6 separate regions of the Homo sapiens genome follow, and all the other regions are linked to region 2. The links are contacts of gene promoters, found by promoter capture Hi-C in blood cells and fetal thymus (Javierre and others, 2016). All regions are on one chromosome and are shown on one strand. Each heading gives the region's core, a stretch centred on a gene start or on the middle of the fragment in contact. The rest is flanking DNA. Distances are from core to core; before and after follow the strand shown. Region 1 overlaps PLCG2 (phospholipase C gamma 2). Region 2 holds the start of GAN (gigaxonin). Region 3 has its middle 36 kb from the start of SDR42E1. Region 4 overlaps MPHOSPH6 (M-phase phosphoprotein 6). Region 5 overlaps PLCG2 (phospholipase C gamma 2). Region 6 overlaps PLCG2 (phospholipase C gamma 2).

Evidence for each region. The method cuts DNA at HindIII sites, captures the fragments that hold promoters and counts their contacts. A CHiCAGO score of 5 or more calls a contact.
Region 1: a fragment that was not itself captured here is called in contact with the fragment with the promoter of GAN in region 2 in 4 of 17 cell types (naive B cells, neutrophils, total B cells and 1 more); the score reaches 8.8 in naive B cells.
Region 3: a fragment that was not itself captured here is called in contact with the fragment with the promoter of GAN in region 2 in 1 of 17 cell types (total B cells); the score reaches 5.2 in total B cells.
Region 4: a contact is called between a fragment that was not itself captured here and the fragment with the promoter of GAN in region 2, in 2 of 17 cell types (total B cells and naive B cells). The highest score is 5.3, in total B cells.
Region 5: a fragment that was not itself captured here is called in contact with the fragment with the promoter of GAN in region 2 in 4 of 17 cell types (naive B cells, total B cells, neutrophils and 1 more); the score reaches 6.8 in naive B cells.
Region 6: a contact is called between a fragment that was not itself captured here and the fragment with the promoter of GAN in region 2, in 10 of 17 cell types (monocytes, total B cells, neutrophils and 7 more). The highest score is 10.8, in monocytes.

The regions. Positions count from the first base shown.
Region 1 is chr16:81,894,153-81,898,357 of GRCh38, reverse strand. PLCG2 (phospholipase C gamma 2) reads right to left here. Exons shown (of 33, transcript NM_002661.5): 13 at 2,431-2,551. Among named protein-coding and RNA genes, the nearest start is that of SDR42E1, 120 kb to the left of the region's middle. The HindIII fragment of the contact is 3,350 bases long and covers 1-3,304 here.
Region 2 is chr16:81,313,440-81,317,573 of GRCh38, reverse strand. GAN (gigaxonin) reads right to left here and starts at 2,612. Exons shown (of 11, transcript NM_022041.4): 1 at 2,294-2,612. The coding sequence starts at 2,460. RefSeq lists silencers at 1,736-2,005, 2,026-2,085, 2,226-2,565 and an enhancer at 2,576-2,775. The HindIII fragment of the contact is 5,241 bases long and covers 1,520-4,134 here.
Region 3 is chr16:81,972,951-81,977,141 of GRCh38, reverse strand. No RefSeq gene overlaps it. Among named protein-coding and RNA genes, the nearest start is that of SDR42E1, 36 kb to the left of the region's middle. RefSeq lists an enhancer at 1,007-1,573. The HindIII fragment of the contact is 2,247 bases long and covers 1,712-3,958 here.
Region 4 is chr16:82,160,219-82,164,034 of GRCh38, reverse strand. All of the region lies in intron 2 of MPHOSPH6 (M-phase phosphoprotein 6), which reads left to right. Among named protein-coding and RNA genes, the nearest start is that of MPHOSPH6, 8.1 kb to the left of the region's middle. RefSeq lists cis regulatory regions at 832, 3,235 and enhancers at 760-904, 3,163-3,307. The HindIII fragment of the contact is 3,410 bases long and covers 620-3,816 here.
Region 5 is chr16:81,943,597-81,947,814 of GRCh38, reverse strand. It overlaps PLCG2 (phospholipase C gamma 2), which reads right to left. Exons shown (of 33, transcript NM_002661.5): 31 at 1,552-1,640. Among named protein-coding and RNA genes, the nearest start is that of SDR42E1, 66 kb to the left of the region's middle. The HindIII fragment of the contact is 2,639 bases long and covers 892-3,530 here.
Region 6 is chr16:81,874,629-81,878,290 of GRCh38, reverse strand. The region is part of intron 7 of PLCG2 (phospholipase C gamma 2); the gene reads right to left. Among named protein-coding and RNA genes, the nearest start is that of PLCG2, 97 kb to the right of the region's middle. The HindIII fragment of the contact is 7,218 bases long and covers 1-3,662 here.

The sequences.
Region 1 (4,205 bases), core at 380-2,879, 580 kb before region 2:
CAGCAAAATCTGAACCATTCGAATGAACGCTGCTTGCAATCATTTTCTTAAATCCCTCTTAATACCAATAAGGATGGCTTTTGCTGCCAAAACATTAATGCATTAATGTTTGATTACAGAGTTCTAGCCCTATAGGTGTTAGATGATTCCAGCCCTATTTTAACCAGAAAAAACTTCCTCTAGTCATGAATGAGATAATGTTCGATGAATGACTGTCAGCTCACAACCATAAGCACCTATGTCCTGCAAATGAAAGCAAACTCTCAAAGCAGAGTGTAAGCTGCCACTGCACAGTGTCTGTTAATACCAGCTCCTTCCATCTGCCTGATGGAGGTTGGCACTTAGAAGGGCTAGGACCCCACAGGGGAGAATGCTGCGATGGAGAAATCATATGCCTTCATTGAAAGGTTTTCACCAAGTGCGAAAAGACGTCCATAATTTCATTGTCTCACAGCAACACCTCCACCCAGCTCAAGGGACATCTGCAGTAAATGCAATAAAAATAACCAATCGGGTTGGGCACGGTGGCTCATGCCCATAATCCCCACACTTTGGGAGGTTGAGGCGGGAGGATCACCTGAGGTCATGAGTTCAAGACCAACCTGGCCAACATAGTGAAACCCTATCTCTACCAAAATACACAAATTAGCCGGGCATGATGGTGGATGCCTATAATCCCAGCTACTCGGGAGGCTGAGACAGGGGAATTGCTCGAACTCAGGAGGTGGAGGTTGCAGTGAGCCGAGATCCTGCCATTGCACTCTAGCCTGGGCGACAGAGGGAGACTCCATCTCAAAAAAAAAAAAAAAGAAAAGAAAAGAAAAGAAAAAAAGAGAAAAAATAATCGATCTTATTGACTCAACAGTTACTCTATGCCAGGTGCAGGGTTAAGCACTTGCTGTAATGGCATCTCATTTAATCATCACAACCGCCCTGTGAGGTGCACACAGTTATCACCTCTATTTTTTAACATGGAAATTGAAGCATAGGATGGTAAGTGCTTTGCCCAAACTAGTACTCAACAGCTGGATTCAAACTCAGCGAGAAGGACTCAGAACCCATACTCGTAACTGCTATTCTACCCCAGAAAGTATAAAAAGACAACTATCATTCCAATGAGCCTATAGAAGGCCTCTTGCCAGCTCTCAGAAATAACAAGGAACCCAAACCAGGAGTCGGCATATGATGGCCTCTGCCCCAAATCTGGCCTGCCATCTATTTTTGTAATGTGTAATTCAAGTTTTAACTGGAACACAGCCAGACTCATGTGTTTACCTCTTGCCCATGGCTGCTTTGCACTTCAGCAACAGGGCTGAATAGTTGCAACAGAGACCACAGGGCCCATAAAGCCTGAAACATTTGTATCTGGCTCTTTATAGAACAATTTCGTTGACCTCCAGCCCAGACCAAGATCTTCTGGTGGGACAGAAAAGGATTACACCTGAGGTCAGAAACCCTTGAAATGAACCTAAATGTTCTCACCCATTTAACCCCTCCTTGTCTCAATTTACTCATCTGTTAAATGGGGATGACCATACTCACTTTGTGGCAAAGAATCAATATGATCACCTGTACAAAGAACCTAGCACAGAGCCTGGCCCCAGGTGGGTATTCAAAAAACACACCACCACCATTACTGGCTGCTTGGATTCCGCCTGTAGAAACAGGTTTGGTGGGGGTGAGAACTGGGCACAAAAGAGGGAATTAGGACAGAAGGGGAATTTTACTTTCCTTGCCTCACTTTTTTTTTGGTTTTTGTTTTTTTGGGTTTTTTTCCTTTGAGACAGGGTCTCGCTCTGTTGCCCAGGCTGCAGTGCAGTGGCGCAATGTGACCTCACTGTAACCTCTGCCTGCCAGGTTCAAGCAATCCTCCCACCTCAGCTTCCCAAGTAACTGGGACTACAGGCACATGCCACTACACCCAGATGATTTGTGTGTGTGTGTGTGTGTGTGTGTGTGTGTGTGTGTGTGTGTGTGTGTGTGTGTGTGTGTTTTGGTAGAGAAGGGGTTTCACCATGTTGCCCAGGCTCTTCTCGAACTCCTGACCTCAGTGATCACACCTCAGCCTCCCAAAGTGCCGGGATTACAGGCGTGAGCCACTGCGCCCAGCCTTTCCCTCTCTTTCGGGGGTTCTGAAAGTGGGGGCCAGACAGAATGAGGAGGTGGGGTGGGCACTGAGCAGCCACAGGGTTCCCCAGCCAGAGCCTCCTCGGGGCTCTAGAGCCCGGGAGCAACTTGCACTCTCGGCCTGCAGGGGGTGCCAACACTCGGGTGAGAACTTGATGGCAGTGGCTTTGGCCAAGATGGGGCCCAGGCCTTCCCGCATTTGGAGGGAGGTGTCTGTGTGTGTTTGCCTGTCTGTCCATCTGTCTATCCAACCCTAGCTGCCTTCCCCTTTAAGTCACACCACCCAGAAATCAGCCAACTGACCTCGAGGTAACAAAGGCGTGGTCTTTGATGGCCTGCACGACGTCGTCAAACTTGATCTTGGTAGTCCGCGTCCAGCCATGGTAGATGACCGGCTTCCCATCGGGCCCGTCCCAGCAGTCCACTACAGGGAGAAACGCGGCAGCCTCAATACCACGTGTGTTCACTGACAGCCCCGAGGTCAGCCCCCGGCCCACACACCAGTTCAGTTACTAGACAAGGACACCCACACTCCCTCCATTCGGCTGCCAACACGAGGACATGGCTTTCCCTGTATCCGCAGGGTTCCCTGTGCGCTTACATAATGCAAGTGCAGCTGTCCAAGACAAGCTAGTTTCAATGCTGCTTTTTTTTTCATTTTTTTTTTTTTTAAGACAGAGTCTCGCTCTGTTGCCCAGGCTGGAGTGCAGTGGCACAATCTCGGCCCATTGCAATCTCCGCCTCCCGGGTTGAAGCAATTCCCCTGCCTCAGCCTCCTGAGTAACTGGGACTACAGGCGCGTACCATCACGCTCGGCTAATTTTTTTGTATTTTAGTAGAGACAGGGTTGCACCATGTTGGCCAGGGTGGTCTCAATCTCCTGACCTCATGATCCATCCACCTCAGCTTCCCAAAGTGCTGAGATTACAGGCGTGAGCCACCACGCCCAACCTCAATGCTTCTTTTTAAAGAAGATTTTACCACGTGTTTTATTTTCTGACTTTACCTGTTGAAAACCTTGACTGCCTTTTCTGCCCGTGGAAATGATACAGAGCAATGAGAAATTTATTTGTAAAGGTTCACAGTAATATTTTCAAACAGAAATGGGTCATGTGGAAGATGAACATCCCCAATCTTTTGGACCCCTGGAGGGCACAGGAGCTGACTGCTTCAAGCTTTACTTTTAAACATTTGTTTTTTCCTGAGGGAGGAGAAAAATCATAAACGGGAAGAAAGTCTATAGAGTAACTGCTACAAAACGTTGCTTCCATGATGAGTCGTTTTGGTAACACTGGAGCCTAAGTCAGTAGTTGATGCCTTTTTTATTTTATTTATTTATTTTTTATTTTTATTTTTTTGAGACAAAGTCTCCCTCTGTTGCCCAGGCTGGCGTGCAGCGGCGCGATCTCAGCTTACTGCAACCTCTGCCTCCCAGGCTCAAGTGATTCCTGTGCCTCGGCCTCCCAAGCAGCTGGGATTACAGATGTGCACCACCACGCCTGGCTAATTTCTGTATTTTTAGTAGAGAAAGGGTTTCGCCATGTTGGCCAGACTGATCTCAAGCTCCTGATCTCAAGTGATCCGCCCACCTCGACCTCTCACAGTGCTGGGATTACAGGCATGAGACACCACGACAAGCTGGTTGTTGCCTTTTCTCAGCCAAATGCACCCATGAGCCTTTGGTGAGAGAGAGGCCGGAAGGAAAATAGCCAGAGAGGCTATGAGAAGGAAGGAGGGAAATAAGGCGTCTGCCATCTGCCCAGGCAGAGATGCCACCTGACCCTTCTTTTCTTTTCAGTTTAGACACAGAGTCTCGCTCTGTTGCCCAGGCTAGAGTGCAGTGGCACAATCACAGCTCACCACAGCCTCAACCTCCTGGGCTCAAGCGATCCTCCCACCTCAGCCTCCCAAGTTGTTGGGACCACAGGCGCATGCCACTACACACAGCTAATTTTTTTACTTTTCGTAATGATACGATCTCACCATGTCGCCCAGGCTGGTCTCAAACTCTTGGCCTCATACAATCCTCCCACTTCAGCCTCCTGAAGTGCTGGGATTACAGGCATGAGCCACCATAT
Region 2 (4,134 bases), core at 1,363-3,862:
GAACCGGACTACAGATATTTCCTAATTCAATGGGTACTACCTTTGAAGACATGGGAACAGACCTATGAGGTGTCAACACTATTACGTATTTCTTCACAGGTGTGATTAAATGAGAAGACTCATTTTTATCCCTCATTCATCAGATTAGTGAGCTGAAGCCTTGTCATCTACCAGCAACTCACAGCTAATATGAGTAAAAGCTGGAAGCACAAAGCGGGTCTTCAAACTCTGAATCCAGTGCGTTTCTCAATTAGGTATAACTGAGCGTCTGTGTACTATGAAAATGTGATGGTGCCAATTTTCTAATGTACACATTTGCTGTGGTAGAAAGAAAGGCAGTCATTCATTCAATACATTAACTGATAGGCACAGTTCTTTCTGGGTGCAAAGAGTAAAGCAGTGAATAAAAGAAAACACCGCCGGGTGCCACGGCTCACGCCTGTAATCCCAGCACTTTGGGAGGCCGAGGTGGGCGGATCACGAGGTGAGGAGTTCGAGACCAGCCTGGCCAACATGGTAAAACCCCGACTCTACTAAAAATACAAAAATTATCCGGGCGTGGTGGCGGGCGTTTGTAATCCCAGCTACTCGGGAGGCTGAGGCAGGAGAATCGCTTGAAACTGGAAGGCGGAGGTTGCAGTGGGCCGAGATCACGCCACTGCACTCTAGCCTGGGCTAAAGAGTGAAACTCAGTCTCGAAAAACAAAACAAAACACCACGACCTCATTGAGGTCACACTGTGGTTGGGAAAGACCACCAAAGTAAATGTGTAAAATATGGGGTACGTCAAAGTGGTAAGTGCTATGGAGAAAAACGAACAAGGATAACAAGCAAGGATTCGGCAATTTGCAATTTACTTCTTTTAAGCCAAACGGATGCCATTTAAAGAACTATAACAATAATGCATCTAAAGTAGTTTTCTTCAGCATTTTCCCAAACAGGGAAGACTTTGGTCTGCTGACTCCAATTTGGGATGGGTTGCTCAAACCTCGGAACTGCCAGCTAGAAGCTGTCTGTCACATTAGCAATCCAAATTCTGTACTAACGATGCTACCCCAGACCCTACTGCCGCCCCGCCCCCCCACCCCTCCACACTCCCCACCGCCAAAGAGCGCAAATGGATTCACAAAACAAATCCAAGAGAAACCAGAAGTTACAAGGGCACTTGAATTTCTTCTAAGTTTAGCACAGATATCTCCCCAATGCAAAGGTTAAAAGTGTAGCGTGCGTGGTGGTTTTGCTGGGACAAAGCGCTAAGAATACACATCATTTTGCTTTTTCTGACCTGTCAATTGTAGTGATATTCTCTACCACTAGCTTATATTTAACCAGCTTACTGGTCAGTTTCTCCAGTTTTTAGCATTCCCCCCTTTCCTTTTATTAAAACAGCAACCTAGTTTGCAAGAAGGTTGCTAAAAGAAAAGATAGTCTCCTGCAAGATCTGATACACTTGTATAAGCACTGTCTTATCAACCTTTTAATTAACCTGGTTAGTTGAGTTGGCAAATCAGGTTAAGCTTTGCTTTACTAAAGTATTAAAATGCCCTTTGTCGCAAGGCTCTCACGGTCCTCGGGTTGTAACAGCATCCTGAGAATTCGCTACAGTTTACTTCAACGTGTAACTCCTCTTTTAAACAGTTACCAGAATGGAGCGGAAAAGACACGTTTGGCAAGGAGAATTTCGCCCGGAGGTTCGGACTACCAACCCAAGGAGAACATCGAGAGGGTTTTCTCTGCCTGCACCCAGCGAGGCGCTGTCTGTCTGGCCTCCCAGCGGGCAGGGCGCTCCCCGCCTGGTTGGCGGCGCCGGCCCAGCCCCCGCGCGTGGATTCAGAGGCGAGCGACTGGCGAACTTCAGCGGGGACCGCGGGCCCGGCCTGGGCGAGGGGGTGACTCTTCCCCGGCGCGGCCTCGCCCAGCCCGCAGGTGCGGGTCCCGGCCGGCCCAGGACGGCGTCTGGGGGCCTCAGGGTCTCCGAGGTCGGGCGCTCGCCGCGGCGGTGGGAACCGGGAGGGACAAGGCGGGGGATCGCGGCCCGGGTCCGGGGACAACTCCAAGGGGCGCGGGGGTCCAGTGGGGAGCGCGGGCCTGGAAGCCACAGAGGCCGCCTGGGGGACGCGGTCAGCGGGGCCGGGTTCCGGCGCTTGCCGGGAGGGACGCCGCGCCAACGGTGACGCGGGGACCCCGGCGCCGGGGACAGGGGACAGGGTCTGGGGGCCACGCCCGGCCCGGCCGCCCCGCCTCCGGCTCCGGGCAGCACCGCCGCGCCCGCCCGCCGTAGCCCCCTCCCCACCTGATGTACGGGCTGGCCGCCGCCAGGATGTTCTTCTGCACCGGGATCTCCTCCCCGTCGAGGACCAGGTGCGCGTCGCAGAAGCGAGACTCCTCGCGGAAAGAGCTGAGCGCTCGCAGCAGACGCGCGGCGTGCTGAGGGTCAGACACGGCACTGCCCTCAGCCATCGCGGCGCCCGCTCCTCTGCCGACGGGTCCGGCTCCCGACACCGTCCGGCCGGACCCCTCGAGCGGCCCGAGTCCTGCGCGCGCGCCCGCCCGGCCCGGCTCTCCGCGCTCTGAGCAGAAGCTGGAGCCCCCGGGACGTGCCTGTGCTATCCGCGGCGCGCTGGGCCGGCGCCTTTAAGAAGCCGCGTCATGAAGTCATTTCTCCGCGACGCCCCCGCACCGTCGCTCCCCGCCTTCTCGCCTCCGCTGCTGGAGATGGCCAATCAGAAGCCTCCTTCCTCCGCCCGCCTGACCAGCTGCGGCTGGGTGCAGCGGAAGGTGTCTACGGATGAGATAGGTCGCTCCCGCGATGGAGGGATGTGCGGGCGGGCTAGGATTCCGTGGTTAAGCCTGTGGCCTCTGGAGCCGCGAGTTTGAATCCTGGTTGCAGCTGTTCCACTTACTAGCTCTGTGGCCATGGGTAAGGTGCCCATCCTCAGTTTCTCCGTCTGCAAAATGAAAGCGAATTCTTAGTGTTGTTGTGGACTCATGAGATGATGCATGGAAGCAAGGGCGAAGTCGCTGTAGCTTTCTTTATTTATGAGAGAAAAGGAGCTGCCCAGGTGAGAGGACAAAAACCCGAGAAAACAGACCCGGAAAAGATGGTTTTGGTTGCGGGCTAGGAAGGAGATGTAGCAGATGAAGCTGGAGAAGTCCGAAGGAGGCCTTAAATTTTGCAGGGCCTCCTTGGTGTGGGAAGGAGTTTGGTTTCTGCAGTGGTGAAGAACCATGGAAGTACCGTATTTAGCAGGGGATTTTGTGCAGGTCACTCAGCTCCTGCGTGGAGAATAAGGCGGGGATGGATGTGCTAAAGGCAGATCGATGCTTAGGTATTGCAGGACTAGAGAGAAGGGAATGGGCACCTGGATGAAAGGGTGATGCGGGGGCGGGGGTAGACAATAGTGGATTGTTTTAAAAGAAATTGTGAGGGAGAGGGAGTTAAGGATAAATATTCTGTTTGAGTAACTGCATGCATGTTTGCACCTTTCAGGGAGAGCTAGGAAATGCTGAAGGGGTGGGCAGTAGAGAGGCAGATGTTTAGATTCAGACAGGCTCCCAACCCAGTGAAGATCAAAGCTGTGATAGAAAGGATCGCTGGGTCAGCTCAGCTGGCAGGCCAAGCCCCACGGTATCTGAAGTTTCCCTGGAGGTTGCTCAGGGCACATGGGAGTGTGGAATGTAGCAACCATTTTGTGCAAACGTTAGGGACTCCATAAGCCTCTAAAAAATTAGCAATTGTATGAGGACTCCGGACCAGAAGAATGTGGCTAGCATTCCAGGCAAGACAGGATGGAATTTTCACTGTCCTTCAACCAACTGAAAGGCTCCAATAAAGTCTTGGGTATTTACCCTGAACCAGCCAAGGCTTTGGAGTCACTGGCAGGAATCCGAGTATCTAACTGTTTTCAGGGCAGAATAGATGGGGAGGGTACGGCTGTGGAAGACACATGCATTTCCACTTTCTTCTGTAAATGCAGCTCAGTGTTCCCGGATGCAATGATAAAGATGTCTAGGATTTGCTTCAAAACAAAACAAAGGGATGGGGAAGCAGATGGGAGTGTAGATGAGTCAAAAGTGGCCGCAAGTTACTAATTGTTAAAGCCACGTAATGGGGATGTGGAGATTCGTTGTACT
Region 3 (4,191 bases), core at 1,586-4,085, 660 kb before region 2:
CATTTCTGCTTGTGCTTAGTTTGATCTTCTCTCATTTTTTGTTAATCCAGCTAGCAGTCTGTCAGTCATGTTTATCCTTTCAAAGAACCCAGTTTTCAGGCCGGGTGCAGTGGCTCACACCTGTAATTGCAACACTTTGGGAGGCCGAGGCGGGTGGGTCATGAGGTCAGGAGTTCGAGACCAGCCTGACCAACATAGTGAAACCCCATCTCTACTAAAAATACAAAAATTAGCCGTGTGTGGTGGCACACGCCTGTAGTCCCAGCTACTCAAGAGGCTGAGGCGGGATAATTGCTGGAACCCAGGAGGCAGAGGTTGCAGTGAGCCAAGACCATGCCATCGTCATCCAGCCTGGATGACAGAGTGAGACTCTGTCTCAAAAAAAAAAAAAAAAAACAAAAATAAAAACACACGCTTTTGGTTTCATTGATTCTTTATGTGAATTTTTGGGTCTCATTCAGTTCTGCTCTGATTTTAGTTTTCTTCTGCTATCTTTGGAGTTAGTTTGTTCTGGTTTTTCTAGTTCCTCAAGACGTGATGTTAAATTAAAAATCTCTGTGAGATCTTTCTTACTTTTTGAGGTAGGCATTTAGAGCTACAGACTTTGGTCTTGACACTGCTTTTGCTACATCTCAGAAATTTTATGTTGTGTCTCTGTTTTTGTTTATTTCAAATAATTTTTGGATTTCTGCCTTAATTTTGTTGTTTATTCAAAAGTAATCTGGGAGCAAATTGTTTAATTTCCATGTGGTTGTGTGGTTTGGGGATATCCTCTTGGTATTGATTAATAATTTTATTCCACTCTGTTCTGAAAGTATGGCTGGTATGATTTCAATTTTTTTGAATTTATTGAGACTCATTTTATGGCTGAGCATGTGGTTGATCTTGGAATATGCTCCATGTGCAGTTGAAAAATATGTATGTTCTGTGGTTAACAGGTGGAGTGTTCTGTAAATGTCTGAGATCGAGTTGGTCCAGTGTCAAATTTAAGTCTAGAATTTATTTTCTGCCTTGATGATATGTCTAACACTGTTAGTGGAGTATTGAAGCCTCCCAGTATTATCATGTGGCTAAGTCTTTTCAAAGGTCTAGTAGTAGGTTTTATTTTTGTTTGTTTGTTTTTTAATAAATCTGGGTGCTCCAGTGTTGGGTGCATATGCATTTAGGACAGATAAGTCTTCTTGTTACATTGAACCCTTTATCATGTAATGCCTTTTTGTCCTTTTGTTGTTGCTGGTTTAATGTCTGTTTTATCTAAGAATAGTGACCCCCTACTGTTTGTTGTTTTCCATTTACATGACAGATCTTTCTCCATCTCTTTACTTTGAGCCACTGGGTGTGCTTACGTGTGAGGTGGGTGTCTTAAAGACAACAGATGTATGGGTCTTGTTTTTTAATGCAATTTACAAGTGTGTGCCTTTAAAGTGGGGCATTTAGACATTTACATTCAAGATTAATATTGAAGTGTAAGGTTTTGATCCTGTCATGAGGTTTTTAGCTGGTTGCTTTGTAGTTTTTACTTGTGTGCTTGCTTTATAGGGTCTGTGGGCTATGTCCTTAAGTGTGTTTCTTGGGTAGGAGGTATATTTCTTTTGTTTCTATGTTTAAAACTCCCTTAAGATTCTCTTGTAAGGCTGATCTAATGGTAACAAATTCCCTTACTGCTTGCTTGTCTGTAAAAGATTTTATTTTCTCCTTTACTCATAAAGCTTAGATGGGTGCAATATGAAAATCTTGGTGGGAATTTCTTTAAGAATACTGAAAATGGGCCCCCAATCTCTCCTGGCTTGTAAGGTTTCTGCTGCAAGTCTGCTGTTAGCCTGATGGGGTTTCCTTTGTACATGATGTGACATTTTTTTCTAGCTGCCTTTAAGATTTTTTTTCTCTAGCATTGACATTGAACAATCTGGTGACTATATGGCTTGCTGATGTTTGTCTTGTATAGTATCTCACAGGTATTCTCTGGATTTTTAAAATCTGGATGTCTACTTCTTTAGCAAGGTTAGGGAAATTTACTTGAATTACTCCCTTAAATATATTTTCCAGCTTGCTTATTTTTTCTCCTTTTCTCTCGGGAATACCAGTAATTCATAGGTTTGGTCACTTTACATAATCTTATATTTCTCAAAGGTTTTTTGTTCATTCGTTAAAATTGTTTTTTATTTTTGTCTTACTAGATTAGTTTGAAAGACCAGTCTTCAAGCTCTGAAATTCTTTCTTCCATATGGGCCAATTTATTGACAAAGTTTGCAATTGTATTTTGAAATTCCTTAAGTGAGTTTTTCAATTCCAGAAGTTCTGATTGATTGATTTTTTTTTTTTTTTTTTTTTTTTTGTGACAGTGTCTCACCCTGTTTCCCTGGCTGGAGTACAGTGTTATGATCTTGGCTCACTGCAAGCTCTGTCCTGCAGGTTCACACCATTCTGCCTCAGCCTCCAGAGTAGCTGGGACTACAGGTGCCTGCCACCACGCCCAGCTAATTTTTTGGCATTTTTAGTAGAGACGTGGTTTCACTATATTAGCCAGGATTGTCTCAATCTCCTGACCTCATGATCTGCCCGCCTCAGCCTCCCAAAGCTGGGATTATAGGTGTGAGCCACCGCACCCGGCCTGATTTCTTTTTAAGATGTTTATCTCTTCCTTAATTTACTGGATTGATTTAGAAGTTTCTTTGTGTTGATTTTCAGTCTTGCCATGGATCTTGTTGAGCTTCCTTGTAATTCATGTATTGAATTCTTTCTCTGTCATTTCTGCATTTCCATTTTGGTTAGGGACCATTGCTGGAGAGCTAGTGTGATACCACTAAATTCAGATTTTTCATGGTGCCAGAATTCTTGTGCTAGTTCCTTCTCATCTGGAGATGCTGACTCTTCTAATTCTTGTAATTATTTTCATGTGGGTAGGATTTCTTTTCTTTTTCTTTCTCTATAATATTACCGGTTTTTTCTTCTTTCCCTTTCCCTTCCCCACACCACCCCCGCTACTGCCCCCAGGAGTTGTGACTGTAGAGAATGTGGGTAGGGTCTTTTGGCTTTGCTTCTATAACCCTATGCACTACTTTTGGCAGGTTTTGTATTAGGCTTTGTGGTTTGACTTACAAACCAGTAGAGGGTACTTAAGGGTAAGAGGCAGCTGCAGCCAACATGCTGGGTATATACTTGCCCTTTGTTTACTACTAGAAGCTCGCCGTTGCCTCAGGAAATGGGCTGATGCATGGAATGCACAGTCCTCTGAGCTTCCTGCTTAGCCCCAGGAAGAGGGGGGCATGATGGGCAGGACCAGACCAGGTAGGCCTACCTACAGGTCCCCCAGTGGCAGGCACAAGCACCAGTGCTGAGGGAGAATCCAGTGGGCAGCCACCAGATACCCAGAGGTGGGCCTAGGCATGGAGCTGGAAAACCTCCTCAGCCCCAAGTTATCTGTACAGATCAGGGGTCAGCCTAAATTCCTAATTCAGGAGAGTGGGTGCTTCAGCTGCCTAGAGATATGCCTGGGCATGGGACAGAGAGGTCCTCGCTTTACCATCGTCTCTACACAGGAAGGGTGGGCTGGCTCAGACTACTCATTCAGGCAAGGAGGTGCTCTGAATGCCTGGACATCTGCCTGGGCATGGAGCGGAGAGGGCCCTGTTTCACCACAATTTCTGCAGAGGAAGAGTGGGGCAACTCCGGCTGCTGATCCAGGTCAGTGGAGATCTGCCTGGGTGTCAACCAGAGAAGGCCCTGGGGCACTACAATCTTTTTATGAACTAGACATCATCACAGGGGCTGTTTGCCTGTGTTCTTCTACCCAGGATCTGAGGTTTTCTTTACAATTCTAGTGGATTCCAATTTTCCTTCTCCAATTAAAGCTCAGAGAGTTTAGGCACTACTTTGCTATTTCCAAGTGGCTGAGGCATGTTAAAAACCTCTAATCCACCACCTTGGAAAAAAAAAAAACACTAATTCACTAAAAGCTTTTATGTGGCATATGTGTTTCATATTATCAATTTCCTTATGGAAAAGCATAATCTATTAATGTAGAGAACTGCATTGATAGGTTTTCCAATATTAAACCATTACTGGATTCCTGAGATTAACTCTACGTTATGAACAAGTGAACATTGGTTTGCAAATATTTTTCAGGATTTCTACTCTATTTAACAGTGAGATTGGCATCATCCTCCCTCCCTTTCTCTCTGTTCCTTTCAC
Region 4 (3,816 bases), core at 1,075-3,574, 850 kb before region 2:
GAAACTCCTGGTAAATTTAACTCATCATTCCGGTGACATAAAGCCCATGAAATTGTTTCTGTTCAGTTTATTGATTTAGTAGCACAACTAAAAAATATTAAACCTATAGAAGTTGTACATGGATTTATACATTTTTACTACTCCCCCTCCCAGCCACTATTTTGTCCTTTTTTACATTGAATGAAGGAACCTAGCCCACATATCTCTGATAGTAACAGCAGACCTTTGGGGAAGCTGTAATGTTCTCTCTATCACCTTAAGTTCTAAAGATTAGGGGTGTACTTCAGGTCTCTCCAGTTTTGTTTCGGTTACAGAGTTCATTAGGTTGAGCATTTTAAGGCAGGTCAGAAGTTTTTGTTTCTTCTTTTAAATTGTTACTACTTGTAATACCATCCATTTTAGCTAACATTTACTGAATCTATAGTGTGTACCAGGAACTGGGCTAAACACTTTACATCTGTAGTTATTGAATCTTCGTAGCAAACTTAGGAACTGCCTCCTATGATTCTGTCACTTTGTAGTTGAGGAACTGAGCTTAAGGGAGGGTAACTTGCCCAGCTTCACCCAGCTAGTCAGTGCTGAAGGCTGGGGTAGACAGTTTCTGGCCCACCCCTAAGCTTGGCTGGTGCCTGATCAACAATTTTGAATGAAGGAGTGTTGGATTTATTTCATCCATTAATTTAGCTGAATCCTTCTGGAAGCTATTTTTCATTTTTCCCTGATACTTTCCTCACCTTAGTAAGCTCTGTTGTATGGTAGTTTTACTTAAACTTTGGTCAAATGACTGAAGATGCTGCTTACTGTCTTGAGGCACATTTATGTGTTTCCATTCTGTACCTGATGTTTGGGCTTTGATTTGGAATGTTATATTCCCCTGTTCATTTGGCTGACCTCTGGACATTGTTTGAAGGTTAGATACCCTTCTCTAAAGATAGAAAGTATGTCCCACCAGGAGGGATCGGGAGAAGGTACTTTTTTTCTCTGCTTCTCAGAGGAAGCAAGATGTTGGTGAGGAGGGAGAAGATAGTGCCAGGGGCAGGGTCACAGGGAGGAAGGGACCTTTGCTGCTGGAGCTATAATTTACTTTTATGCCTTAAGTAAACTTGCCAAAGTGTTCCTTCCAGTTGTTTATTAAAGAGCAGGACTGTTTCTATCTTGTTTCCAGTATTTTTCCCCTAATACAGCATATTATTCCCAGAAAATGACCTTTACATTTCTTTCTGGGAAGGTAAATAATGCCTTTTTGCCATTACTCAGCATCCTGTTTATGTATAGGTGTGTATATCAGCTCAGGATGTTGGCAGGAGAAGATGACACTCTCAGACTGAGGAGAGACTATCAAGGTGTGGGTGGGGCATAGGGGGGCCCCTCGGGGCAGTGCAGCACCTCCTAGCATGTGTAGTGGGAGTGATTACCACCTGAGCTTGCAGAGTCAACGGGTGGGTGGGGAATAGCTGCTACCGAATCTGCAGATAAGTTGTGTAGAGAGAGCACCTTACAGGAGCTGCTACCTCCATTCACGGGTACGGCCAGCCCAAGGTCATCCTAGCAAGGGAGCCAGGTACCTGGCAGCAAAGGAGCCCTTCCGTGCATTACGTTCAAGTCAGCCTCCCAGGCCAGAGAAACAGGTGAAGACGGGAAGTAGGTCTGGAGGGGTGAATGGATGACATGTCCTTGGTATACGTGTTGTATTGAGTTGTTGTTTTTAACACTCTAAATAGGGAGATCATGGAATGGATTGGTTGATTAAGCACATGGGCTCTGAAGTCAGGCAGACCTGGGTTTGATGCCCAGCTCCGCCAGTTGTTTACTTGTCACCTTGGGTGAGTTACTTAACCTGTTTTGTGTCATTTGTGTATTGGGTATGATGATAGTACCTGTCCAGTACATTCCGAGAAGTAGATGAGGTAATATATGTAAAACAGTCACCATAACACCAGGCATAAAGCACAGTGATTGTCACCATTGTGTGTATTTCCTTATATCTGAATATATGAAGTACACCCATTCCTTTCTACTCACTTATGTTTGTGTATCCTTTTTTGCTAGTGTTGTCTTAACTATTCTGTGAATTTGGAGATTGCATGTGTCTGTGCTCTGAAAGTCTCGACTTTCCCATTTTTAATGTCAGCCGTATCAGTCTGTAATTCAGTGAAGATAATTAGGGCTATTCAGTGTTAACACTGCCTCACAGGGGACACTTTTAGCCAGTGGCTAGACCATGTAGGGGAATGATGATCTAGCTGCTGTGCCTCAACTTGGAACAACTGAAGGGCATTCCTGACTCCAGAGCTCTCATATGTGGCTGAGGCCTTAGTGTAGCCACATTGCCCATTATCTTCTCCCTCTGCCCAATCCTTCTTTCTCTGTTTTCCTAGAAGGGCATCTGCTGAACAACACTGCCTGCTAAGTTTTCTGCATATATGTCTGTCTCAGAGTCTGTTTCCAGGGAACCCGATATAGTGTGAATTCCTAGGAGTGAAATTTACCAGATGAAAGATTTTGCTATCTATTGCCTTATTGTTTTTTTCCCCAAGGATATGGTCCAGAAAGAGTGTGCAAGTATAGGCAGTTTAATTCCTCCTTTGCCGTAGCAAGTTGTTTAAGAAGTATTTTTGGCTATTGTACATCTTATACTTGTGTTTTGTGGTCTGTTTGGAGTCAGAAGCTATAGGGACCTGAAACTAACAAGTTAGCCTGCCACACTTTCACTGATGCTGGTGGAAGATAGGAACCTTCTGGGTCTGAGATGTAGGGGAGGGACAATAGCCTTTCCTTCCACCCATTTGAAGTTCATTAGTTGGGGTCCCTGTAACAAAAGACAGATTAACAAAGAGAAAGGTATACACTTTTATTTCACAAAAGTTTTAGGTGACACAGGAGCCTTCATAAGAAAATGAATACCGAAGAACTGGTTGAACCTGAGTGTTTTTATGTTAGCTTTGATGAAGAGTGGAAAGTTGTGAAGAAATATGATGGGAGCAAGGGGTATGAACGAAGAGTAATAAGCCAGGAGAAACTTAGCAAGTCTTTTGTTCAGATTCCTCTCTCTGTCCCTTCTTCTGAGATAAGGATGTTGCTTTCCTCTGAGTGTAGGGAGGGCACCTCTTATGTGAGATGCTTTTATGACCTGCTTCAGGGGACAGTCAGAAAATCCTACCTGCACGTCATTTTTCAGATTCCTCCAGTGTAAAATTTTCAGTATGCCAAGATGCCATATTTTGGGAGTAGTGTCTCCTGAACACCATCAGAAACAAAGGACTTACTGTACAGCAAGCAGCACAAGCATCAAGTTTGCGTCATTTCTCTTTTGTCCCCAACTCCTATGAGGGATGGCGTGAAGTGGCCCAGGTGGATGCTGTGCACCCAGTGGATTTGCATCATAGCTGAGATCTCCTGAGCTTAGAAAACTGGAACCTTGGATAACGGACCACAAGCAGACTTGCCTTCGGCCCCAAGAGAGGCATCTGTATTATGCTGGACAGTAAGCAAATCTGCCCTTCGCTTTAGAGGAAGACTGTTTTTCAAGGCTGCTCGCTATGCAGATATCCTTGCAAAGATAGTCCAGAGCAACCGGGCAGTTAGTGCCTCACTCAAAAAATGTGCAGGAATGTGAGACCCACTGAGAAGGGTTTTCTAACTGGAGTTTTGCCATGGTATTTGTGGCTTTAGGCAAGTCCAGCTTTTTCTGAGCAGTAGTTTCTCATCTGCGAAATTTATGAAATAATTTTGTGGGTGTGTTTTAGCCTGAAAATTATCCTCATTAATGAAAATTGGATAATTAAAATACAAAAAGAGGTAAGTTTTGAAATATTT
Region 5 (4,218 bases), core at 962-3,461, 630 kb before region 2:
AAATACAGTAGGTAATAAAATGGTGCTAAAAATACTCTTTATAAACTAAACAAACATACTGCTAGCAAAGTAAAGGACTGCGACTTGATAAAGTAATTGTGACATGTAAATGGCTTCTTCAGAAGGTGTGTAAAGTGCTTATTGACAGTTTTCTGGGGCTGTAAACTCTATCTCAGCAAAGGTTTTATGAGTAAACTCCATCTTAGCCCTTACTGGATCAATCATTTGCTCAGAAAAGTCTGCATTGAGGCTGTTTACCAGAGTTTCTCCCTGGCTTCCAGAGGATATGGTGATAAATAAAAGGTATGACCGTGGGCATTAAGGAGAAAGCCCAGGTCTACCGAATGCAATTCAGCTCGGCTTCCAAGAGCGACTCTTCATCCCAGTGTGGACAGAAATGCCGAGCTGCACCTGTGAGTGGCACAGAACCAGGTGACAGATGTGGAATTAAATGAAATCTCAAGACCTAGCAGCTGAACTAAAGAAAACTTTCAGAAAGCAGATTTGTGAGCGTCGACTTTCCATTTAGAACCCCACACAACGCCCCTGGCTCCCTACAGTGGCAGCCCCGGCATTAAGCTTCCCTCATCAAGGAAGTCAAATCTGCATCAACACAATTTTCTTTTAAATATACTAATTTTCTCTGCTGCTGGTGATACCTAATCACTTAAATTATTTATAATGTTTCCGGTTGTTTACAACAGCCTTGCAGAGCAGCGGGCCTAGGCAAATGCTGCCCTACCACAATCTAAAACCATTTTTATCACTTGACTTTTCTGTGAAGTGTCTGCGGAGGGGTTTTATGTATAGAGAGAAGCAGCACTGGTTCCCTTTCCCCGGGCAATAGATGCACAAATCCCAGATCTTCAGTGAGCTGGGGAGGGATAAGCTTCACTAAGCAAAGGGTCTGCTTCACTAAGCAAAGGGTCTTCATGCTCACTGGTTTAAGGCTTCTGCTAAAGCCCAGGTTTTACAGTTTTACCATTCAGCTAAATTAATTGATCCCACTAATTCTATATCTGAGTATTGATCCTAAGGAAAGAATTCTGGCGTAAAGGAGGAAAAAGGTACTCACCTAAAGCTGTGCATGATCGCCTTATTTGTAAATGGATTCCATCTAAATGCTCAGCTTGGGGGGTGATTAATTTATGGTCATTCTACTTGATTGGAGGCTATCAGACTTTTTGATAGGATTCCTAAAGATGCACTGGCACCAAAAAGCATCCAGAAAGGATGAGTCTATCTAGGAAGGCATCATCTGGCCTGGCTCTTGCTGAAGTGAAACTATGGGGAACTTACAAGTACCGGCACCCTTTCCTACACTGCCTACACAGAATCACACAGCATTCTCCAGGAAAGGAGGATGCTGGGAGGGAAAACCCAGGACACTCTGGGGAATTAGCAAAAAGGAATTCTTGTATGATGTCTCATGCTTGGGCTAGACAATTCTGAATGGGCTTAAGTCCATCTGCCAATTGTATTCACGGGCCGTTTCTACCCTCACCAGCAGGCATAGCTCAGGGAACCCTTAACTGGTGTTTCTCCACTCACCAGGACTGGCCGCATCTCACAGAAAACCAGGAGGGAAGCCAGCTCTATGTCCTCGCTGTACCCATTCTTCAGAGGAACGGACCTGAATCCTGAAGCAGAACAAGGAGGAAAATGCAAAGGCAGGTAATTAATGTCAGACCTTAGATTTTTTTTGGAGGCTACCTCGGGATCATAGGCCTAGTTCAAAGGGTAGAGAAGTCAGTGCCCCATGCTGGGGGCTGACTTTGTGGAAGCCAGAGGTCCTATCCTGATGGTTAGGGACAGAGGCCGGCAGCCATGACTGACTGGTCCATACAGGGAAGCAAGGTTAAAAATATCTACCATCTAGAAATAAAAATGATTCACTCAGAAGAAATTAAAACCCACAGAACATTCCACATTGAGTGTAGTGATTGCAGCTGTGGTTCAATTCCTTAAATACTCCTGAGACCAAAAGAGTAGTGAATCCTCATCCATTTCCTCCACTTACAGCCTTACAAAGCACAGGACCAGGGAGTGTGTTTTATCTTTAAAGATTTCCAATGGGAGGAAATCTTTCTGTCCCTTAGTAGTTCATAGCAGTATTGATCTTCCTCCTCCTAAAGCCATTCCCTCTTTACAATTAGGACCTGTCTTTCACAGTCATTTAAATGTTTCTTTTTATTTGGGGCTGAGGGGGGCAAGTTGGAGCCGAATCTCCCCCACCCCCATTCAGTAATGTTTAAGGCAACACATCTCAAAGGTTGGTTTGCTGGCTTGTTTTAGTATAAAAGAACACAGGGCTGAAACAGAACGGTCACTCCCACCCAATCCTCCTCTCTGTCCTAAAAGGAACCATGGTTAACAGTATCTTTCCCAAGATTGCCTATGCATATGTTTGAGTTGCTTTTAATCACAAATGATAGTGCCTTACCCAGTTAGCATTGTATCTCAGAGATGGTTTCTGTGGTCCTAGTTTGTCTTGAAAGCATTTATATCATATCTACTGATTCTCCAAGTAATGCCCAAAATAGGACACTCCCACTGTTTCCTCTGTGCCTTCCACCATTCAGATTTTGGGCTTATTTCTCTTGGAACATTTTATACTCTCAGTTGCTTTATCACCTTCAAACAATATCCACTGAATCTCTCACTTTCCGCTGCTTATGAAGAGGAAGGTCACATTCTTACACAAACCTGTTCCTTTTCTCTCCCCAATTTCTCCTTTTACACCCCTAAGGTGTATTGTCATTTCTGTATGGACATGGTATATAATATTTGCATTCCATTTTGTAACCATAATTCTCCCACAAAGGGAGGCTTATGTTTTTCTGGCATTTTAATATAAAATTCTTAAACATACAGCAACACTAAAAAAAATTACAAGGATTACTTGTATACCCACCACCTAGATTGTACGAAACTTTTACTCTACAGTTGGCCCTTGATATCTATGGGGGACTCGTTCAGGACCTCCCCAGATACCAAAATCCTTGGAGGCTCAAGTCCCTGATATAAAATGACATAGTTGGCCAAGTACGGTGGCTCATGCCTGTAATCCTAGCACTTGGGGAGGGCAAGGCAGGAGGATCACTTGAAGCCAGGAATTCAAGACTAGCCTAGGCAACATAGCAAGACCCCCATCTCTACAAGAAATAAAATAAAATAAAAAATTTAGCTGGGCACAGTGATGCACACCTGTAGTCCCAGCTACTAGGAAGACTGAGGCAGGAGGATTGCTTGAGCCCAGGAGTCTGAGGCTGCCATGAGCTATGATCACACAACACTGAATTTCAGCCTCAGTGACAGAGGGAAGACCTTGTCTCTAAATAATTAATTCAGTGGCGTAGTATTTGCATATAACCTATGCACATCCTCCCATATCCTTTAAATTAGATTACTTTAATACCCAAGACAATATAAATACTGTGTAAATAATCGTTATACTGTATTAAGGAATAAGAAAAAAGTCTGCATATGTTCGATACATAATGTTTTCAAAAATATTTTCAACCCAAGCTTGGTTGGTTGAGTCCACAGATCCAGAGGGCTGACTGTACTTGTTTTGTCATGGATTTATCTACCCATCAATCCATCTTATTTATGTATACAATTCAAAGTATGACAAAGACATCAATATACTTTCCCCAGCATGCATCTCACCACCCAGAGCTCAGTATTACTTTACAGTGTTCCTCTTCTGATACACAATTTTATACATAAGGAAATGTACAAATTTATATTTTTTAATGGCTGGATGCTCATCATCTTACTGAATTCCGTGGATGCCTTCATTGGCTAAATTTGTCCTCTTTTGTTCTCTTCAAAATGAGCCCATGGGACACAGAATTCCTGAGCTGTGCATGTTTGAGAGCATCCATCCTTTGATTTTATACTTGAGTGACAGTTTGAGGGGGTATAAAACCTGAATGTTTTATACCCACTCATTTCCTGGTAGGGTTTATGGGGACATTGCTCTCATTGAATATACTGCTGTAAAGAAGTTTTCTGACCTATTTTTCCCTATCGCTACAATGTGATTTTTGTTGCTAGTTTGTTTTTTGCCTTGATAGAGACTCAGAATTCTTGCAGACTAGCCCAGTGATATGCCAACATTAATGCAAATGTGAATCACCTGTGAATCTTGTTAAAATGCAGATTCTGACTTGGGAAGTCTGGGGTGAGGCCTGAGATTCTGCATCTCTAATG
Region 6 (3,662 bases), core at 90-2,589, 560 kb before region 2:
AGATTTGGGCCGGGCACGGTGGCTCACACCTGTAATCCCAGCACTTTGTGAGGCCGAGGCAGGCGGATCACTAGGTCAGGAGATGGAGACCATCCTGGCTAACACAGTGAAACCCCATCTCTACTAAAAAAATACAAAAAATTAGCCAGGCGTGGTGGTGGGCGCCTGTAGTCCCCAGCTACTCGGGAGGCTGAGGCAGAAGAATGGCGTGAACCCGGGAGGCAGAGCTTGCAGTGAGCCGAGATGGCGCCACTACACTCCAGCCTGGGTGACAGAGCGAGACTCCCTCTCAAAAAAAAAAAAAAAAAAAAAAAAAATTAAAAAAAAAAGAGGGAGATTTGGAGACAGAGAAGCACACAGAGAAAAGGGGTCCATGTGATGATGGAGGCAGAGACTGGCACAATGACATCTACAAGCCAAGGAGCGATGCAATGACATCTACAAGCCAAGGAGCGATGCAATGACATCTACAAGCCAAGGAGCGATGCAATGACATCTACAAGCCAAGGAGCGATGCAATGACATCTACACGCCAAGAAGCGATGACGCCTACATGCCGAGGAGTGATGGTGTCTGCACACCAAAGAGCAATGCCATCTACACACCGAGGAACACTTGTAGGACTGCTGGCAGCCACCAGCAGCCAGGCGGTGTCCACACTCCGAGGAATGCTTGAAGCATTGCTGGCAGCCACTAGAAGCCATGAAAGATGTCTGGAACACATCCTTCCCTGGAGCCTTCCGAGGGGTGTGGCCCTGCCAACACCTGGATTTTGGACTTTTAACCTCCAGTACAGTGAGGGAATAAACTTCTGTGTTTTGTTGTTTTGTTTGTTTGAGACGGAGTCTCGCTGTGTCGCCCAGGCTGGAGTGCAGTGGCGCAATCTCGGCTCACTGTAAGTTCCGCCTCCAGGTTCACGCCATTCTCCTGCCTCAGCCTCCCAAGTAGCTGGGACTACAGGCACCCGCCACTATGCCCAGCTAATTTTTTTTGTATTTTTAGTAGAGACAGGGTTTCACCGTGTCAGCCAGGATGGTCTCGATCTCCTGACCTCGCGATCCGCCCGCCTTGGCCTCCCAAAGTGCTGGGATTACAGGCGTGAGCCACCGTGCCCGACACTTCTGTTATTTTTAAGCCACGAGTTGCAGTACTTGCCACAGCGGCCCCAGGAAATGAACATGGGCTCCATGAGCTGGGGCAAGACGGTGACAGTCTCAGTCACTCCTCCTGCTGATCCCATCAGGTAGTAAAATAAGCCCCATTTCAGAAACAAGAAACAGGCCCAGGGAGGCAAGGACTTTTCTCCTAACAAGTCCAAGGGCCAGAATTTCAACCCAGGCCCACCTTGGTAAATCTCTAGCATCCCACACTACACGTACATATGTACACACAATAAATGAGATTCCAGCAATCACAGAATATTCTAGATGCTACGGGTGCACCGTGGAGGCAGCAGTTAATTTATGTTCGGCATTACCATGGAGGGTTATGTGGTCAGATTCTACCTAACCAAGGGACAGGGGTGGCACTGGGCCTTATGTCACTCTGGGCAACATCCCAGGACCTTCCCACCCCAGCAAAGGGCCAGTGAGGTCAGGAGAAACAGCTGTATTGTTAACCACTGTGCCTCTTGGGTCACGCACACATTTACTGGATGAGTGACTAAAATAATAGATAAACTAATTTCTTCTGGTAGCTAAAAGGCTACAGGGAAATGTCATCTCTGAGTCGGGCCCCAGGAGAAGTTACCAGCTGGACAAGAGAAGGGGCCATGCCAGAGGCGGGGGTCACAGAAGCAGGGGCCAGGGCACTAAGAAAGGGAGGGAAAGGAATGGAGTTTTCCCACGTGGCTGAAGGCACACGCCCTTTCACAACCGAAGCTGGTCTTACGCACTCAGTGGTACTTAGGCTGTAGAAACCATTTGGTTCTGGAAGGCCAAGGGTAAAATCTCATCAATAGAAAAGCTAGGCCAGGCACAGTGGCTCATGTCTATAATCCCAGCACTATGGGAGGCCAAGGCGGGTGGATCACTTGAGCCCAGGAGTTCAAGCCTAGCCTGGGTAACATGGTGAAACTGTCTCTACAAAAAATACAAAAATTAGCCTGCATGGTGGCACACGCCTGTGGTCCCAGGTACTCCGGAGGCTGAGGTGGGAGAATCATCTGAGCCAGGGAGTTCGAGGCTGCAGTGAGCCATGATTGTACCACTGCACCCCAGCCTCGGTGACAAAGTGAGACCCTGTCTCAAAAACAAAAAAAAAAAAAAAAAAAAAGAAAGAAAAAGAAAAGCTAACCAGAGATTCTATCTAACTTCTCCACTGTGGACTCTCCTCTTGCCAGCCACTGACAATAAGAATAAACTGCAAGATCTCTGAGCTCCTCCACAAACATCGTCACAGAACGCTCATCACTCACTTCCCCCATGCTCACACCCATGTAAAATCCGGCAGAATAATCCTTCAATGCCTTACTGGATCATAGGAACAACCAGAGATACGTTAGCAGCCTTCTCAATTTTCTTTTTGATTTTTTGCAAGTGCTTTCTATTTTTATGTAAGAATGCTGTAACCACAGGGGACTTCACAGGTTTGATCAGGAGGTAGCAGGGTAGCAGTCACGTAGCCAGGTATTAAATTACAGTATTGGCAGATGACCTGATACGCTGCTTGATGTCTGCTGCAAAGTGTGAGAAAAGGGACTTGGGTGAGGGCAGTGACAAGGTGATAATGGCTGAAGTCAGCTGATGATACATGGGGGTCTGTTACGCTATTCTCTCTACTTCTATATGCTTTACATTTTCTTTAATACAAAGGATTCAAAAATTAAGAAGTATTCCATGGCTATGCGTCAAAGTTGGGCAGAAAATCAAATCCTAGCTCTGCAGCTTACTACCCTGCAGTAAACAGGCCTTCAGCAAAGTAACCTCTCTGGACCTCAGTTTCTTAATCCCTAAAATGGCAATAACAACAGTAGCTCTTGCACAGGCCTCTAGGGGGGAATTAAATGTATACAAAACACATAGAGCAGGTTGGGCATGATGGCTCACACCTGTAATCCCAGCACCTTGGGAGGCCAAGGCGGGAGGATCACCTGAGGTCAGGAGTTCGAGACTAGCCTGGCCAACACGGTGAAACCCCGTTTCAATTAAAAATACAAAAATTAGCCAGGCGTGATGGTGCATGCCTGTAATCCCAGCTACTCAGAAGGCTGAGGCAGGAGAATCGCTTGAACCCGGAAGGAAGAGGTTGCAGTGAATCAAGATCGTGCCATTGCACTCCAGCCTGGGCAACAGAGAAAGACTCTGTCTCAAATAAAAAAAAAAAAAAAAAAAAAAAAAAAAACACATAGGATAGTGCCTAGCAAATAGTCCACCTGAGAAAATGTTGGCTATCATCTTTGTTAATGATACTGTTATTACAGCCTAGTTAGAGGTATATCCCCTCACCAGGGAGACACAAACGTGAGATTACATTTCTTATCCTCCTGCTGCTGCCAAACTTTTGGAAACTCTGAAGCTCGAGAGGTGGAACGTAGGCAGGTGGTTAGACACAAAGAGGAACTAGCAAGCTCACGATGGAAACCATTTGGCTGCTGATAAGCATGAACCCACTCCCTGGATTTAGTTCTGGGGATTATAAGTCACCATAAATAGCTCTGTCTC